Regions from separate parts of the Homo sapiens genome. Here all the other regions are linked to region 2. Evidence: promoter capture Hi-C in human tissues and cell types (Jung and others, 2019). All regions are on one chromosome and are shown on one strand. Each heading gives the region's core, a stretch centred on a gene start or on the middle of the fragment in contact. The rest is flanking DNA. Distances are from core to core; before and after follow the strand shown.

Evidence for each region. The method cuts DNA at HindIII sites, captures the fragments that hold promoters and counts their contacts. A contact is called where the count stands out against the background at its distance.
Region 1: the fragment with the promoter of APRT here is called in contact with a fragment that was not itself captured in region 2 in 2 of the 25 tissues and cell types used here (H1 embryonic stem cells and lymphoblastoid cells).
Region 3: the fragment with the promoter of ANKRD11 here is called in contact with a fragment that was not itself captured in region 2 in 2 of the 25 tissues and cell types used here (hippocampus and spleen).

What each region holds. Positions count from the first base shown.
Region 1 is chr16:88,810,678-88,814,080 of GRCh38, forward strand. APRT (adenine phosphoribosyltransferase) reads right to left here and starts at 1,251. Exons shown (of 5, transcript NM_000485.3): 1 at 1,143-1,251; 2 at 873-979. The coding sequence starts at 1,222. It overlaps GALNS (galactosamine (N-acetyl)-6-sulfatase), which reads right to left. Exons shown (of 14, transcript NM_000512.5): 14 at 3,057-3,403. RefSeq lists enhancers at 1-120, 1,626-2,310, 2,311-2,994 and silencers at 1,004-1,403, 1,654-1,913. The HindIII fragment of the contact is 27,772 bases long and covers 1-3,403 here.
Region 2 is chr16:89,101,323-89,104,694 of GRCh38, forward strand. ACSF3 (acyl-CoA synthetase family member 3) reads left to right here. Exons shown (of 11, transcript NM_001243279.3): 3 at 1-25; 4 at 1,282-1,437. Among named protein-coding and RNA genes, the nearest start is that of ACSF3, 9.2 kb to the left of the region's middle. The HindIII fragment of the contact is 6,924 bases long and covers 1-3,372 here.
Region 3 is chr16:89,488,644-89,492,096 of GRCh38, forward strand. It overlaps ANKRD11 (ankyrin repeat domain containing 11), which reads right to left and starts at 1,918. Exons shown (of 13, transcript NM_013275.6): 1 at 1,602-1,918. LOC101930112 (a long non-coding RNA gene) reads left to right here and starts at 2,327. Exons shown (of 2, transcript XR_933895.4): 1 at 2,327-2,743. RefSeq lists enhancers at 464-977, 978-1,492 and silencers at 774-843, 884-993, 1,074-1,123, 1,698-2,177, 2,378-2,467 and 1 more. The HindIII fragment of the contact is 15,043 bases long and covers 1-3,453 here.

The sequences.
Region 1 (3,403 bases), core at 1-2,500, 290 kb before region 2:
AGGAATGTTACCCATCACCTACCCGGAGCTGCTTCCAGGTCAGAGTGCAGACCTGGGTCTGTCTTTTAAGGGACCACTTCTTAGCTGTGTGTTCCTAGGGGAGTCACCACCCCTCTCTCTGAGCTGAGCAGCCCATCTGTAACTGGGCTGGTAGAAACCTGACAGGCCTCAGCTTACTCTCAAAGGCAGCTCTGCACCAGGGCTTCTGTCTAAAAAGGGAGTCTCTCGAGGTGGCCTGAGCTGTGATGGTTGGGGGACGCTCAGGGAAACCCTGCCCCGGCCTGGCAGGAGGTCAGGGAGGGCTTCCTGCAGGAGGTGAGAAGGGAGCTCTGGCAGTGTTGTGGCTCCAGCAAGAGCTGGCGCTTTCCTCAGGGCAGTGTCCAGGGAGTGGGCTGTCACACCCTAGGAGAGGCAAGACGGCCAGGAACACTCTGTTCTCCCTGGGCCACCTCTTGGGCTCTCCCGGAGGCCTCCAGGCCTCCCTTCCCTGGGTGGGCATTCCGTGATCTTCACCAGGGAAGGCCTGGCTCGTGGCAGGCGCTCAATACCAGCTCGCAGAAGGAACAAGAAGCAAGGCAGCTGGGCCCTGTGGATTCAGCTTGGGCACTCCAGGGAGACCAACTGACCCGGCAACTCGGTCACGCCTGTCCTGGGCTGGGGACCCGGAACCTGCGGGAAGGACGCCTGCACAGCGCGGCGGCCTCGGGGGCTCAATCTCACAACCCTTCCCGGGCGACCCAAGCACGGCGCCCGTCCCGGCGCCCCCTGAAGCACCCCAAAGGCCCTCCCCCAAGCAGACGCGCAGAGCCCACGTGCTGCCCTCGGCGCGCGCAGAGGCGGAAGCGCCCTAGATGCGGCCACTGGGCACTCGCCTGCGATGTAGTCGATGCGGCCCCCGTGGGTCGCCTTCAGGTGTCGCGCCAGGAGGCCGATGGCGGCGCGGAAGGAGGCGGGGTCCTTCAGGACGGGCGAGATGTCCCTGGACCCAAGGACAGGCCTGGTGACGCCGGGGCCGAAGGAGGGCAGGGCCCCGGGGGCGAAAGACGAGGGTTCCCGCCCCGCCCGCCCGGAGGTCGCGGGCCACGCGCTCCCATCCGTAGGCCCGCAGGTCGGGGCGCCACGAGGGCGGCCTGTGCGTGCACCTGAATACCACGCCTGGGGTGGGGAAGTCGGGGAAGCTGCGGATCCGCTGCTCAACCAGCTGCAGCTCGGAGTCGGCCATGGCCGCGTGCGAAGAGCCAGCGGCAGCCCGAGCGCGCCTGCGCGGGGACGGGCGGGACCGCCACGAGGGGTGGGGCATCCCCGGAGGGCGGAGCGTGGGTGAGGGGCGGGGCATCCGTCGCCGGAAGCCTGTACCGTATTTCATGGACTCCTAGGCGCCATCGATTTTAAGACGCGCTCGCATTCCACGCACCACTGAGCAGAACGTTCGAACCGGACAAAAGTGCGAGTCAAGGCGCCCTTCCTTGTCTCGGGCTACGCTTCTGACTGCAGCCAGGCAGCTGTGGGCCGGGGCCTTGGCGGCTGGAGGAGGGGCGTGAGCTGGTCTCGCCCACGCACCTGGCGCGCGTACGGGCCGCGCCCTTTCTCCTTTATTGGCCGAGATCCCCACGCTGCGCGCGGGAGGCTGGCGCGCGGGGTGGAGAAGGGCGTGAGGAAGCGGTCCAAGTAGCAGGAGGGCGGTGCAGGGCCCGGAGGGAGCAGCCCAGGGCGGAGGCGGCGGGCCTGGGCTGGACCGGCCGGGGGCGCTGGCCTCTCGCGGATGGGCCCTGCCGTTGAGGCGGCTCTTCCCCGCCCGGACCCGGGGGAGGGAGGCCGGAAGGTGTGGCCAGGCCAGGGCGCGCATCCGCGAGGGCAGAAGCCCTTCTGTCCGCCTGCAGAGGCCAGGTGACCCCTTAGCCTTGGGGTGGGGAGCTGTGAACCCCCTGGCCGCCCGAGGACTGGTACCCAGGGGGTTGTGTGAGGCATAACTCCCCCCAAACACAATTTCCTTTCAAGAAAATCCCCAGAGCTAAAATGCCTTGTGCTCTATTCCAAGACTTTTCTTCATTTCGCAACTTTTTTTTGAGAAGGACTCTCGCTCTGTCGCCCAGGATGGAGCACAGTGGCGCCATCTGGGCTCACTGCAAGCTCCACCTCCTGGGTTCCGGCCATTCTCCCGCCTCAGCCTCCCGAGTAGCTGGGACTACAGGAGCCCGCCACCACGCCCTGCTAATTTTTTGTATTTTTAGTAGAGACGCAGTTTCACTGTGTTAGCCAGGATGGTCTCGATCTCCTGACCCCGTGATCTGCCCGCTTCGGCCTCCCAAAGTGCCGGGATTACAGGCGTGAGCCACCGCGCCCGGCCCATCATTTCGCAACTTTTACAATTCAGCTTTGGCCTGGCAGTTACTGCAGAAGGGAAAACCCACTCAGTGGAAGGCAGCCCCCAGGAGCCTTCGGAGGGGGAGGCCGGAGGCTGCATGCGGCTGCTGGGGCCCCGGTTCCAGGGCGGGTGGGGGACCCATCGTCTGATGCCAAGGGGCGTGGTAGGGGCGGCTGCCTCGCAGTGTGCGGTGGTCAGGGCTGGCAAGGCCTGGGGCCTGGGCTCCAGACCCCTAGGGAAGGTGGAAATGGAGGACCCTGACATCCTCACGTCCCCGGGGAAGCTGCCACATGAGCCGGCCCCACCGGTCCAAGTGTGTGAGCTACACTTCAGCCGTCCACGTCCAGCCCAGGAGGCCTCCGCCTTCCCCTTCCTTGTTCCTGATTCTGTCTCCCAGATGGCCCGAGGGGGGCCTGGGAAGGCGTGGGGTGGGGGGGTACTGGAGGAGGGGCCTGGGGAGGGTTCAACACAGAATTGGCCCTGTGGCTTCCTTCAACCCGGGCTGTTGGGCTGGCGTGGGAACAGCAAGGAGCCCCGAGTCCTGCCCTTCAACAACCAATGTGGCGCTGGCCTCTGGAGGAGGCCGGCCGGGAGGCAGCGGGAGCTGGGCACCTGATTCTTGGCAGCTGCTGAGAAGGTGTGAAAGGAAAATAAATCTCCGGACCCCAAAATCACTCAGCCAAGAGAAAAATCAAGCTGGGAATTAGGCAAACCTGCCTCCCGTTTTATTTCTAAATAACATAGTTACAATGATAAGAAGCTACACGCCTCCCTCATAATTAGCGTCCAGGGAAATTCCTTGTGGACAAAGGACAGACGGAACTGGAAGTCATCCCTCTGGGGCTCCCCTGAGACAAACGCTTATATGATTGCCCCGTTCCCTTACTGTTTACATAAAAATGCGGATTCACTGGGCCAGACTCAATCGTGTATTCAGTGGAAGGCTGACTGAACCAATGTACGCCATACACATACTGATCTTGTGTCTCCCTAAGATGTATAAAGGCAAACTGTATCCCCAGCCACCTCAGGCACCTG
Region 2 (3,372 bases), core at 179-2,678:
CACGCACCAAAACATCAGGGCTGTGGTGAGTGCCGCCTGGCGCCGTGATGGTTTCGGTGACCGCACAGCACTCCGGGTGGGCTCCGGGCCAGAAGCACATCTTTTCATTCGCTTTTCTGTGGAGTCATTCACAGTTGTCACCATCCTGCAGACCCGTGTGAGATACAGGGACGCAGGCCCTCGGGGTGTGGCCGCTGGCCTCACTGGCCACGCAGGACGGCTCTGGGAGCGTCCAGGTGTAGAGGGATTGAGGGGCCGCCGAGTGACCCTGCCAGGACCATGCGGCATGAGGTCAGAAGGGACCACTCACTGCCTGTGATGCTGAGGGGCTTTTCGGAGGCCAGCCACGTGTTAGGATGCGTGGTCAGGACCCCACATACACCCGGGTCTTACTCGTTTTTTGTGTGTCCTGTGACCTCAGTCACATCTTCACAGAACTCTCCAACCACATCACTTACCTGGCATTTGTACAGTGTCATAACGTCTCCTATGCACTTGAAGCAATCAAGTAAAAATGAAAACCAAAAGCCAGGAAGGGGAAGGCAGGAAGTGTACCCCACGGAGTCGTGGGCTGACGAGGCGCCATGAGCACACAGCAGGCTGGGCCCTGGGTGGCCTGCGCCGTCACTCCTGGAAGCGGCGCGCCTGTCGGGAGGGACGGGCTCTGGACTCCTCTGTCCTTGCTGAGGGGAGTGACATGCACATGTGCTTCTCCCTGGAGCCTGTGCAGGCAGCAGGCAGTGTCCTCCGTGAGATTGGACAGAGGATTCAGTGGGCCGTGCCTCACGCTGCTTCTCAGTAAGAGCTGAGGGTGTGCTCTGGAGCCTGGCCTGGGTTCTGTCCCGGCTGAGCAGGTGACGATAATTCACGAATCGGCAGAGCTCTGTGTGGGCAGTGCTGTCACCTGAGCCAGTGGTTGGGCTGGGAGTCGATTCCAGCCTGAATGGCGCTGGGTCCCTGAGTCCCAGGCTTGGGCAGGGGCGGAGCTCTGTCGACCTGGTGTCTGCAGAGCCACTCCCCGACCTTCTAAATTCCCTAAAGCCTCTGGCTGTGTGTGGCGCTGTCCTCTGTCCCCAGGGTAAGTGAGTGACCCAGCAGATCTGCTGTGGTTTTGTCGTCATCTTGAGAGGCTGCTAAAGGGGAGCAACAAAGAGCCAGCCTTCTCCTTCCCCTTCCTCAGTGGGGAGGCCCAGAGCTCCTTTCCGTGAGCCCGAGGTCTGTGTGTGCTGTTGCGGGCCACAGTCTTGCTCTTGCTCTCAGCTGTGCTCTCGTCCCCTGCAGGTGACCGGGCTGGTCCACAAGTGGGCATGGACCAAAGACGACGTGATCCTCCACGTGCTCCCGCTGCACCACGTCCATGGTGTGGTCAACGCGCTGCTCTGTCCTCTCTGGGTGGGAGCCACCTGTGTGATGATGCCTGAGTTCAGCCCTCAGCAGGTGAGTTGGGGTCAGGGCTCTCGGTTGCACCCTCAGACTAGGCGCCTTTCCCCTGTCGGGGCCAGGGCTCTCAGCCGCGCCCTCAGCCTAAGCGCCTTTCGCTGGTTGGGGTCAGGGCTCTCGGCCGCGCCCTCAGACTAGGCATCTTTTCCTGGTGTGCAGTCGCCCCTATCCACAGGGGACGTGCCAATGCCGAGACCCTGGGTAGCATGGAACCCTGTACCTACGATGCTTTTTGCTATACATACGTACCTATGATAAAGCTTAATTTATAAGTTAGGCACAGTAAGAGGTTAACAATAACAGAACAGTTATAACCATGTACTGTAATCAAGTTATGTGAAAGTGCTCTCTCTCTTCAAAATACCTTCCGGTACTGTGCTCGTCTGTTGTGAGACTGCAGTGGGCCACGCGTCATTGAAACCGTGAATAGTGAGACTGGATGAGCGGAGGTGACTGTACAGGCCCTGCTGCCCGCGAGCTCCTGCGGCTGCGGCGAATGCTCACGCGCTTGGTTTAAAATAATGCGAGTTTGTTCTTACATGCTTGGAGGCCAGGATTCTGAGACGAGTCTTGCGGAGCTGATGCTGGGTGTGGTAGGGCTGCTCCGTCAGGAGGCTCCAGGGCAAAGTCCGTTCCTGCCTCTTGCAGCTCTGGAGGCCGCCTGTGCCCTTGGCTCCAGCTGCTTCACGTCCAGCTCTGCTTCTGCAGGCACACGGCCTTCTCTCCGTAGTCAGGGCTCCCTCGGCTTCCCTTTGTGCAGCCTATGCGGATATTCCAAGATCATCTCCCATCTTGAGGTCCTTCGCTTCATCCACCTGCAGTTCCCACCACTGCGAGAGGTGACACATTCGGGGTGTAGGGCGTAGGGCGTGACCCTTTGAGCTATGATGTGGCCACTGTGGCAGCCCTCGGTTACTCCAGAGTACTGGCCCAGCTGGAGAGCTGCTTGCTGCGGAGGGTTACTTTGGAGTATTGGCCCAGCTGAAGGGCTGCTGTGGAGTCTCTGTCTCCCCTCTCTGCATGGCTTCCTCTGTAGCGTCTCCCTTGGAGCAGGCAGGGAGGGAAGGACGCGGTGCTGGTCACACAGAGCGCTGGGGTGGGAGCAGTCATCGCCGAGCTGCTGCGCGCAGCCTTGCCTGTGCAGGGCTGTCTCCAGGCAGATCAGGGATGCTGCTTTGGAGGGAAAGGACCTGGGCTCGAGGCGGGACCCTGTGCACAGCATCGGGCCTCGCCTGTCAGTTGGGGATGGCGGTGGCTTTTAGGAGTTGCTGTGGCCCTGTGTGCATTCTAGCTGACTGCAGGCAAGAGTCACTCACCAGGCTGCAGAGGGCATGAGGGGCAGGCCTTGAGCCCACAGGAAGGACACGGTGTGCGTATGTCACAGGTGTGGTGAAGCAGAGCCCTCCGGTGAGGCCATGGACGTTTACCAGCCTCTGCCCGTATAATGAATATGCCTTTTATTCACAGGAAAAAAAGTTTAACACGTGAATGTATGGAAAAGCCCTTAGAATTTGGATCGTATCATGATGGTTCTCAGCACAGAGGAGCCCATCTCTGAGGCCAGATGCCTGGGACTGGGCTCTTGGTCTGTGCGGGGTTGTTCTGCAGGGCAGACGTCCCGGCCAGCAGAGGCACAGCCCTAAAGCCCAGAGCACAGCAGCCACCAGTGGCCGGCCCCACACTCACCGCTCTTGCCAGGACTCTTCCTGTCTGAAGTCTTTCTGGCCCCATCGAAGGCTGTGTGGAGCTCTGAGGCCTCTGACCGGGAGCTCAGGACCCAAACCCTAGTCAGGTGTGAATTTCGCCAGGAAGGGGTCCCTGCAAGCAGTCAGCCCTGCCCACCTTCCCTCTGCTTCTCCTGCCGCTGAGAGGCCCATCCTCTTCTCTGCAGGGCATCCAGCCCCACACGGTGGCTGGAGGTGGAGAGAAGGC
Region 3 (3,453 bases), core at 668-3,167, 390 kb after region 2:
AACAGTAACTGTTTCGATGGCACTTTTTCCACAGGTAATATCATCTTATATGTTTGGCTAAGTCTCAACATCCCAAAAAGGATCAAAAGATTCTCTAAGTTTTGCAGTTCAACAACTGTGCACACTTTTATTTCTCATTTCAAGTGTTAAGGATATTGCTCTAATGACTGCATAAAACTCTCTCCTCATGTAAGAAAGCCTGAAATCTAATTTCTCTACCATAAAACCCTGTTCTTGCAAAAGGATACAAAACTACTCATAATCTACAAAAACGATGAATCCTAAGCATGTTACATAGAAGGAAAACAGTTTCAAAGCATAGGGAGCTGTTAGACCAGCTTCATCTTCCCAAGCCTCTTCCAAAACTTCTTGGAAGCTGATATATAACACTAACCTTCCAAAAACACAACAGAAGCAGAAAATCTTAATGGGGCACCAGGAAAAGAGCAAGCCTCGAGAAAAATCAAGACTCCCCCCGACCAACCTTCCCAAATAACACAAACACAAGAGTTAACAGTACAATCCCTCTTTGAGAGGGGACTGAATCAATGTGGCAGGGCCAACCCTACACACACACACACACGCGCGCGCGCGCGCGCGCGCACACACATACACCACACACACAGCTACCGCCCTGCCAGGGGATGATGAAATGAGGAACGGAAATTAACATTTCAGGCAACGTCTCACATTGTTCCTTGAGGCCAAGGGCTGCTGTTGCAGCCGCCACCGCCACCGCTTTCCTCCCAGCCACCCCCCACACCCGCCCGCCTACCCTCCCCCTAACACCCCCCACACGGCTGCCCGCATTCCTGCCCCTCCTCGGCCTACGCGCGCCTCCTGCAACCCCGACGCCCCCAGGTCCCCAGTTCGCCCTCCCCCTCCGGCTCGGAGCCCGAGAGCCGCCTGCTCTCATTTCAAAACAGCGATAATAATAGGGACGCTGAGAATAACAACTACGACCAGCACGGCGAAGGCGCCCCTCTCGCGGGTCAGAGGTCGGCGCCCCAGCTCCGCAGAACCCGGCGCCCGGCCAGCGCCCCCTGGCAGCCCCTCCCGGCAGCCTCAGGTCCCCAAGACCTGCAGGCCCGCCCCGAAGCCCCCCGTCCGCCCCTCACGGCCGCTCCGAGCCCCCGAGGCCCGCCCCGGAGCCCCCTGTCCGCCTCTCACGGCCGCCCCGGGCCCCCACGGCCCCCAGGCCCGCCCCGGAGCCCCCAATCGGCCCCTCAGAGCCGCCGCGGGCCCCCGGCCACCCAGGCCCGCCCGGAGCCCCCGTCCGCCCCTTACGGCCGACCCAAGCTCCGCCGACCTCCCAGGCCCCCCCCGGAGCCCCCTATGGGCCCCTCACGGCCACCCCGGGCCCCCAAAGACCCCCGGCTGCCCCGAACCCGGACCCGTAGGCCCGCTCCGGGACCCATTATTGGTCCCTCACGATCGCCCCGGGCCCCCAAAGACCCCCGCCCACCCGGCCCCGACCCCCCAGGCCCGCCCGGAGGCCCGCGGCGCAGCTCCGTCGCCGGGGAAGGCCTGCAGGCCGCAAGGCCGCGCGAATGCCCCGTGCCCGCCCCGACCACCGCCCCCAGACCAGCGGCGCCTCTCACCGTGCTCCGAGGGCTGCGCGGCTCCGCGACGGCTCAGCGGCGGGGCGCGGGCGCTGCCCATGCAGCCCGCGGCCGCGTTTCCCGGGCCGCGCGGCCCGAGCGGCAAGGCGGCGGCGGCGGCGGCGCGGGCTCGGGCCCGGCAGAGCTGCGAGGGACGGCGGGAGGCGAGCCCGCCCCTCGGGCGCGCCCACGGCTCGGGCGAGAGCCGCGGCTCCCGGTGCGGACGCTACTGATGGGGCGTCTGGCCGCGGGCTCGGCGGCGGCGCCTCCCCGGCTGGGGCCCTCGGTCCATCGCGCACCGTCTCAGGGCGGCCTCTGGCTCCAGGACCCAGCGGCGGCTGCGGCGGGAGCCGGCCGCATGAGACGCTCCCGCCCATTGGCCCGCCGTATCCGCCACCGCCATTGGCCCGCCCCGGCCGGCCGCAGGGGCTGTGCACGTCACAGCGCCGTGAGTTAGTGCGCTAATGGAGTGAAGGAGAGAGGCGGGATTGACAGCCTCTCTGGCGGTCCGGAGGCGGGACTAGGAGGACGTCCCGGTAACGATTGGGCAGGGTCCTGCGTAAGGGCGCATGCGACACTGGAAGTAGCGAGCAACTGGATTGGCTGCCTCCGTCGCAAAGGAGGGTGGGTCTTGCATTCTCGGGCCTGACGATTGGTCTTTCCAAGTGCCGGAAGCAACAGGGATGTCGTCTGGAAACAAAATCTGGTATTGAAGCGCAGGGAGACAAAACGTCCACCTCTAGAGCCGAGGCGGCGGTTGCCTGTCGCGTGCCCGTGGTCTTCTGCCTGCCCCCGGACATCTCGGGCCACGTCCGGCCCGGCCTCCGGCCGCGCTGCCCTAACGGGCGTCACGGGGCATGAAGAGCTCTGGGCGGCTGCGAGGGGAGGGTACCGGGGCAGCGGGGCGGTCGCTCGGGGCTCCCGCGCGGTGACTCTTGCTCTGCCGTCGAAGAGAACGGCCCTCGGGCGCGTCGCGGCCGCGGCTCCAGAGCCCCTGGGCCTCGCGCTCTGAGAGCCTGAGCCGCTTGAGGAGGCCAAGCGCCCACGAACCGCATTCCCTGCCTTGCTAGTTAGTTCTCCAACACGCGAAAAAGGTAGACGAGGACTGGTTTTCTTTGCAGCTAAAATGAATCAAGCCTCTGGTAAGTGTGGATCCTGTTCTAAGTGCACCTGTGTTCTCCTCCAGAACTAAACCAAAAAGCAAGGTGAACAAAATCGGTGCTCCTTCAGTTTCTTCTTTAGTTCTGCATGTTACTGGGGACTAAGACAACGGGTAAGCAAACTATTTATAGGCCTCAATTTACGAAATAACGGAATTGCAAAGTCCGGAGTGGATAGGACCGTGAGGACGGTCTTTTTTCTTGGGCAACACGCATTATGGTCGAGAGATCAGTTGTTAAACCGCCCCTGTTCAAATCCCAGCCCTACCAGTGACTAGCGGTCACCCTGTAGGCTTTGTCTCTCAGATCTTCAGTTTCTTGGTGGGTAAAATGGGAACTACAAGTAGCACCTATTCTTTTTTTTTTTTTTTTTTGAGTCAGGGTCTCACTCTGTCGCCCATGCTGGAGTGCAGTGCTAACTGCAGCCTCAGCTTCCCGGGCTCAGAGGATCCTCCCACCTTAGCCTACTAAGTAGGTGGGACCACAGTCAGGCATCACCACACCCGGCTAATTTTTTAAATTTTCGTAGAGATAGGCTCTCTGTGTGTTTCCCAGGCTGGTCTTGAAATCCTGGACTCAAGCGACCCTCCCTCCTCAGCTTCCCAAAGTGCTGGGATTAGAGGCATGAGCCACGGTGCGGGCCAGGAGCACCTATTTCATAGGCCCATCGGGAAGATTAAATGAAGGGGCTG